Regions from separate parts of the Homo sapiens genome. Here region 2 is linked to region 1. The links are contacts of gene promoters, found by promoter capture Hi-C in human tissues and cell types (Jung and others, 2019). All regions are on one chromosome and are shown on one strand. Each heading gives the region's core, a stretch centred on a gene start or on the middle of the fragment in contact. The rest is flanking DNA. Distances are from core to core; before and after follow the strand shown.

Region 1 (3,088 bases), core at 59-2,558:
AGCTGAGCCGCAGAGCTGCCTTGGGAGGCGATGGGGTGAGGTTCCAGAGGGCAGGAGGAGGGAGCAGTTCACTTTCATGGACATCTCTGCACAAAGCTCACCCAGAGGCAGCCCAGCAACCACCCATTGCCCACCCCACTCCCTACACTCCTCTCAGAGGGCTGCTGGAGATGGAACTGGCTATAGACCCATTGCCCATGTAGGTAAACGATGCAACAGCCTGACTCAGCAACCTGCCAGAGCTAGGGAAGCTGGAGATTCTCCATAGAAGGCCTGGGTAAAGGGACCCACCTGAGTTCTGAGCAGGTTTTGCCCCTGGTCGTGCTGGTTTTTCTGGGCTTTGCCAATCTTCTGGGTCCCTACCAATGGTGAAATTCTATCTCCTGAACTTCCTCATCTAACCACATCCCCAGTCCACTCCAAGGGCTAGAGTACCCCTCCCCTTCATCCTCGCAGGAGGCCTCAAAGTCCACCGCCAGGGCTGAGGCTCAATGGTGTGTGTGTGTGTGTGTGTGTGTGTGTGTGTGTGCTCGCGTGTGTGTTGGTGGGAGAGTAATGGTAACATACAAGTCCCAAACCTGTTCTTCTCGGACCTGGGAAGAAAAGCTGTCAGGTCTGGCAAAAAGGTGGAAACTTGGTCTCTGCCAGGAGGAAACAATCAGTTCCTCACCCTTCCTGGCTGGATCCTAGCACATGGGAAAAAGACAGAACACACCCCATTTCCGTGGGTCCCTGGGGGAAGGAGCAGCCGTAATTGGGGAAGTTTCAGAACATGGAAACCCCTTAATCTTGCCCAATGAGGGCATTCATCGTTGGCAAGGTCAGAACTCCAGAGCCACACCCTGCCTGCCCTGCTCCCAGGATGGCATCTTTCCCTCTCGGGAGGGAGGCTGCCTCCTTTCATCAGGCTGAGTAGCGGGGAGGGCGATGGTAATCCCGGGGATAGGAGGGGCTAGGTAAAGGCGGATCCGATGGAGCATAGCTTCCAGGGCGGGGTGTTGGGTCACCTGGGTAAGGGTTAAGAAGCTGGAGGCAGCAAGCCAGTTTTGAGTGAGGGGGGACCTGAGTGAGGGGAGAGGGGAGGTTAGGAGGGGGTGAGCTCTCCTTCTCCCTGCAATAAATCGGCTTAGCGGACGAGAGCCGAACAGCCCAGAAAGGATTAAAGAAAAGTCTGTATAATACGCGGAGAGCGCGGCGAGGGGAGGGCAAGGAGGGCGGGGGGGCGGGGAGAGGGGGAGGGACGGAGGGAGGGCGAGAGGAGGGGGGTGCTCGCGCCGCCGGGAGAGGCGAGCGCGAGGCAGAGAGCGCGATTCGGCTCCAAACTCCGGCGCTGCAGCCGATCGGACTCTGGGCCGCGGTGGGCACCGCGCGCAGCTAGGGAGCCGAGAACCGCGGCGAGCCCCGAGGACGCCCAGAGCGCGAGGGTCGCTGCGCCTCGCAGAGCCGGAGCCGAGTCGAGCCGGGCGCCCGGGCTGCCTGGCCGCGGCGGCATGGGGGCGCCCCCGCGGCTCTCCGCGCTGCCCGCCACCGCCTCGGCCAGTGGCCGGAGGCAGGAGCGCGTCTGAGCCCATGGCGAGGGGACCCGCCGCCACCGCCTCCACCCCCGCCGCCCCGCCACCGCCGCCAGCTCCCGGGCACCATGCGAACCGCCCCGAGCCTCCGCCGCTGCGTCTGCCTGCTGCTCGCCGCGATCCTGGACCTGGCGCGCGGTGAGTGCGCGGGCGCCTGGCGGGAGCCGAGCGGTGAACGTGCGCGGGGACGGGGTGCCGGGGGAGGGCGCTGGCCGGGGTCGCTCCGAGAGGCTCGGGCTACGAGCACCGGTCCTGCCCGGGGTCTGTGGAGCTGGTTGGCTCGATGAGGGAGGGAGGACGCCTCTTGGAGAGCGCTCATGGATTTGTGCCAGGGTGTGTGTGTGTGTGTAAATTGTGTGTCTTTGTTGTGTGTCTGGGTGAGGGTGTCCGGGAAGGAGCTGTGTGGGCAGAAGGTGCGGGAGTGTATTTAGAGATGCAAGTGTGTGTGTGCGTGTGTGTGTGATGGTGTGGGGTCTGCGTGTGAGTGAGCGAGGGTCTGGATGGGTGTTAGAGTGTCTGTGTCAGTTACATGGAGAAGGTGTGTGTGTGAGAGTGTGAGCGAATGTTGGGGGGAGGGTGTGAACATGTGCCACCTTCCCTGTGAGGGTGTGAAGTGTGTGAGCTTGTGTCACTGTGGGTGTGAGGTGTTAGGGGGTGGGTATGTGAGGTTTGGCGTTTCACGTGTGTCCCGAGTGTGCAGGTCTCTAGGGGTGTACGACAGCGGATTACTATTTCTGTGTGCACAGGAGATGGGACTGTGACACTGGACAAGAGTCTGCTTATGTGGGATGGGTGGGGGTGCAGGTGCCTGGGAGTCGTGGGCTTCATGGGGCTGGGAGTGTGTGTATGCGTGCCATGGAGCGTGTGGTTATCGTGTGCAGGGAGGTATGGACGCTTCCGGGGCTGGGGAGTTGTGAGCAGCTCAGTGTGTGTGTGTGTGTGTGTGTGTGTGTGTCCCGCCGTGTGGACTTGCTCCCGGGTTAGGCTAAGACAGCTAGAAGGAGGTTGAAGCCGAGCGGGTTCTCCGGAGCCAGTGAGAGGTGGCTCCGCAGCCCCAGGGTCCGCGGCCGGCCTCCCACCCAGTGCCGCCGCGTAGTGGGTCTTAAATGGAGCTGAACCCTTTCGCGCAGTGAGCAGAGAGCCAACGTGAGGCTAAAAGCCAGGAGGGAGGGAGGCGGGACCAGCGAAGAGCCGCAGGCACCGAGACTACAGGCTCCGCGTCCGGGATCCTCCTCGGAGCCTGGTGCCAACCTCAGCCTGGCTGGAGTCAGAGCCTGGCTCCGCCTCGGAGGGGAGCGGGACGCGAGGTGCCAAAAAGTCGTCTTTATGATCAATAAGGTCTCGACCCCGAGCCCCACTGGATGATAGAGGTGGGCATCACCTCTGTCCTATGCCATAGCCTTGTCCCAGCAGGAGGTGCCTACCTAGGCTCTGAGAGTGCCTGCCAGGAAGGGGTGCCCCCTTAAAAATAACCCCAACTCCTTCTACCCCGAAGTCCTTGGGGAGTGCTGGGTCTG
Region 2 (3,314 bases), core at 653-3,152, 100 kb before region 1:
GCTGTCCAAGCTGCCATCAGAATGGTGCAGATGGAATACTCCAGGCTGGGGAAACAGCATGTGCAAAGGCCCTGAGACTGGGGTGGAGGGAAGCATAGATACCTGTGCCCTGTGACAGTGTGGACTGTTGTTCAGCCAGTGTTCATTTCCCTCTCCGTTCCACGTGGGTGGTGTGTACTTCCCTGCCCCACTGATGTTGGGCTTAGCCACATGACTTGCTTTGGTCAGACAGGAAATTGGCAGGGCTTGGTTTGGCTTGGTTTATTGCATTCTGGTCATCTGCCATGAGCAGAACCTCCTTAGACTCTGGGGGGAAAAATGTGAAGCAGAAGTGAGATCATTCTATAGCCTACATCAACCAAACCTCAGCCAACCTGCAGACCCATAAGCTTGAGGATAAATGCTTGTTCTTGTCAGCCACTGAGCTTTGAGAAGGCTTGTTATGAAGCACTGGCAGGGCTGTAGCTGACTGACATAAGATCTGAGCTATTGGAAGAAAAATTCTGTCCTGATTGGAATGGAGAGAAGGCCAGGGAGAGGGTGCAACATGAGGCTGAAAAACTCGCAGGTGCTGGAGTTTTGCAGGGCCTTATAGACCCTCTTAAAGATATTGGAAATGTTCTTGCTTTACACTGGGTAAAGCCAAGGCCAAGAGAGGCGGAGTGCCAGTGGCACATGGTAGGTTAGAGGCAGAGCCGGGGCTGGGCCCAGGCCCTTGAGGTCCCATTATACACCTGTCCTTCTTTCCTTCTGGTGATGACAACAGCAACCATTCCACAACAACATTCAGTATGATCCAGTCATGATCAATGCGTCCGGTACTACCTGATTCAATCTTGCTAACATCTGTATGTTTAGATGAAGAGACTGGGGATCAGAGAGGCTCCCTGTTCTGCTCAAGGCCACATGCTAGTTTGTTGGATCCAGTGCTCGTGACCTTCACTACTGGGCACCACTGCCCCTCACCAGCCTGGTCTCTGTGGGCTCCACTGAGCATGGGCTTCAGTGGGGCTGGGTTGAGCTGAGCTGTAGGCAGAGGGTGACATTGACCATGGGCTCTATCTTCTAACTCTGATCCTTTCTGCAACTCCCCTCTGACTTGGGTGGGCTAAATTGACACCTCAGGCAGGAGTGTGTGGGGACTGTTCATTGTAGGAAAGTGAGAGGTTCGCATCCCAACATGTGTTCCTGGTAATTACAGTCCCCTTGGTTGTCAGGCAATAACTGAGATGTCTATGGTGAGATTCCTTCTCAGAAGGGGGCCCTTGAGTGGACTTAGCCAGGTCTAATGGAAAATGACAAGGGCAAGGGAGGCTGAGGGGGGAACAGAAGAAGGAAGGACATGGGCAACTGCTACTCTTGGGATGTCGGCAGAAAGAGTGGGGGAAAGAACTCCAGAAATCCAAGAGTTCTCCCGCTGCCGTGGCCTGGAGCCTCCTTCCCCAGTTGGGCTCTGCAGAGCCACAGGGCCTGGGGAATGTCAGTGCCTGTTCTGCAGACCAGCAAGCCCCTGGGCATGGTGCTCCCCCACATTTCCTAGCTGTGTGCTTCCGGGGCGCATGGTAGCAGTGCACTGGCTGGCCCCTTTGTCCCCGAGCAAAGCCATGTGACCAGTTCTGGCCAACGTCTGCAAGGTGACAGTCCCGTGCATCACTTTCTGACCAGGGTGTCTCATGGGAGACTTTCAGGAATCCTGACTGAGTTTCCCCCTGCTGGGAAGCACCTGCTGGAAAGGGGTTGTGAGTGGCTACAAGGAGCAAACTCCTCTGTCACTCTGTAGGGGACATAGATCGTGAGCAAGAAACACACCTTGGTTGTTATAAGTCAGGAACATTTTGGAGATTATTGTTACTGCAGAATAACTGAGTCCAGCCTCACAGATAAAGTGACTCACTGAGAATGGGAAATGCTGCAACCCCTATCTGTTTCTTGGGGATTCACAAGACATGATTATAGTGAAGGATCTGAGAGGAAAGAAAGAAGGAAGGAAGGAAAGAGAGAAAAGAAAGAGAAAGAAGGAAAGAAAGAGGGAGAAAAAAACAAAGGAAAGAGAAAGAAAGAATGAAAGAAAAAGAAAGAAAGAGAGAAAGAAAAGAAAGAGAATGAGAAGGAAGGAAAGAGAGAGAAGGAAAGAAGAAGGAAAGAGAAAGAAAGGAAAAGAAAAAAAAAGAACAGCATGTTTACTTTGTTTTAATTCAAGGTTTTCTGGACTTATAGACTAGCAAGCCATCCTTCCCATGAATATCCAATGGAACATCTCTGGGAAAGGCTGGTAGGGAGTGAGTGTCCGGGACAGCAGGGTGGCAGCACAAACCTTCCACGGTGCTCTCCCAGACTCAAGGGGCGCCGCTGGAAGATGTCTCATGTGAGACATGCTCATGGGCTGTGACGAGGAGGGCAGCATTGGGAGAGGATTTGAGCACTCAGAGGGGAGCTGGGAAATCTGCTTATAAACCTGGCTCTGTCACGGGCTTCCTGTCCTCCATGGAGAGTCCTCTACCCTCTCTAAACCACAATGTCCTTCCTCAACACCCAGGCTCGTAGGGAGGATGGAATAATTCTGCACAGTGGAGGTGCCAGCGTTGGCCCGTTGCAGCTGTCCCAGATGTGCCGGCAGCTGTCTGATGGGTGGACCACAGCCATGCAGTGAGCACAGAGCCAGGACAAGTTGAACCTGCCAGAGAGCGACGGCAGGCTCTGGAGAGCAGGACCTGGCCATCTGTAGACGCATCGGTAACACAACAGTCCCACTAATTACCCCTGGGAGGCCCCCCAGCTCCCCTGTCAGGGTGTTGAGTTCCACCAGAGTTTCCAGACTGAGATTCCTGAGCCAACATGCTTTCCTGCAACCCACAACCCCAGGGATGTGGGGTTTTGCCCTAGGACTCTCTGGCTGGGACTTGCCATTGGCCAGAACCCATGGAAATGGATCTGATCTTCCTACTTTCATTTGGGTCTCTGGGGGGCCCTCAGGGCTCAGCTGTCTCCCTGCAGGTCCCCAGGGCCTCCCATTTCTACATTCCCATGGACTACAGCTTCTCCCAGCAAAGGCTTTTCCCAGCCTCAGGCCCTGCAAGATGCCAAGCTGTGACAGATGCTCCTATGTCCTGTTGGGAGCTGAAAATATACTGGCTCTGAAATGTTGCTCTTTTCTCTGAGCCTCAGTTAAATAACTGCAGCAGGGGAACATGGACCATGTCAGGCATTTTCAAACCATTTTTTAAAAACCACGGAGGACAGGAAGCCCGTGGACCTTTTCCTTTGGATAAAACCTTAGATGGGTCTCTGATATTACACCAGGTAAGAGTGCTCCC

The links. Contacts are between HindIII fragments. The study calls those that stand out against the background at their distance.
Region 2: a contact is called between a fragment that was not itself captured here and the fragment with the promoter of IGSF21 in region 1, in 2 of the 25 tissues and cell types used here (neural progenitor cells and psoas muscle).

What each region holds. Positions count from the first base shown.
Region 1 is chr1:18,106,490-18,109,577 of GRCh38, forward strand. It overlaps IGSF21 (immunoglobin superfamily member 21), which reads left to right and starts at 1,309. Exons shown (of 10, transcript NM_032880.5): 1 at 1,309-1,709. The coding sequence starts at 1,640. The HindIII fragment of the contact is 17,740 bases long and covers 1-3,088 here.
Region 2 is chr1:18,005,239-18,008,552 of GRCh38, forward strand. It overlaps LOC105376809 (a long non-coding RNA gene), which reads right to left. Exons shown (of 4, transcript XR_947006.2): 3 at 103-306. Among named protein-coding and RNA genes, the nearest start is that of LINC01654, 59 kb to the right of the region's middle. The HindIII fragment of the contact is 6,544 bases long and covers 1-3,314 here.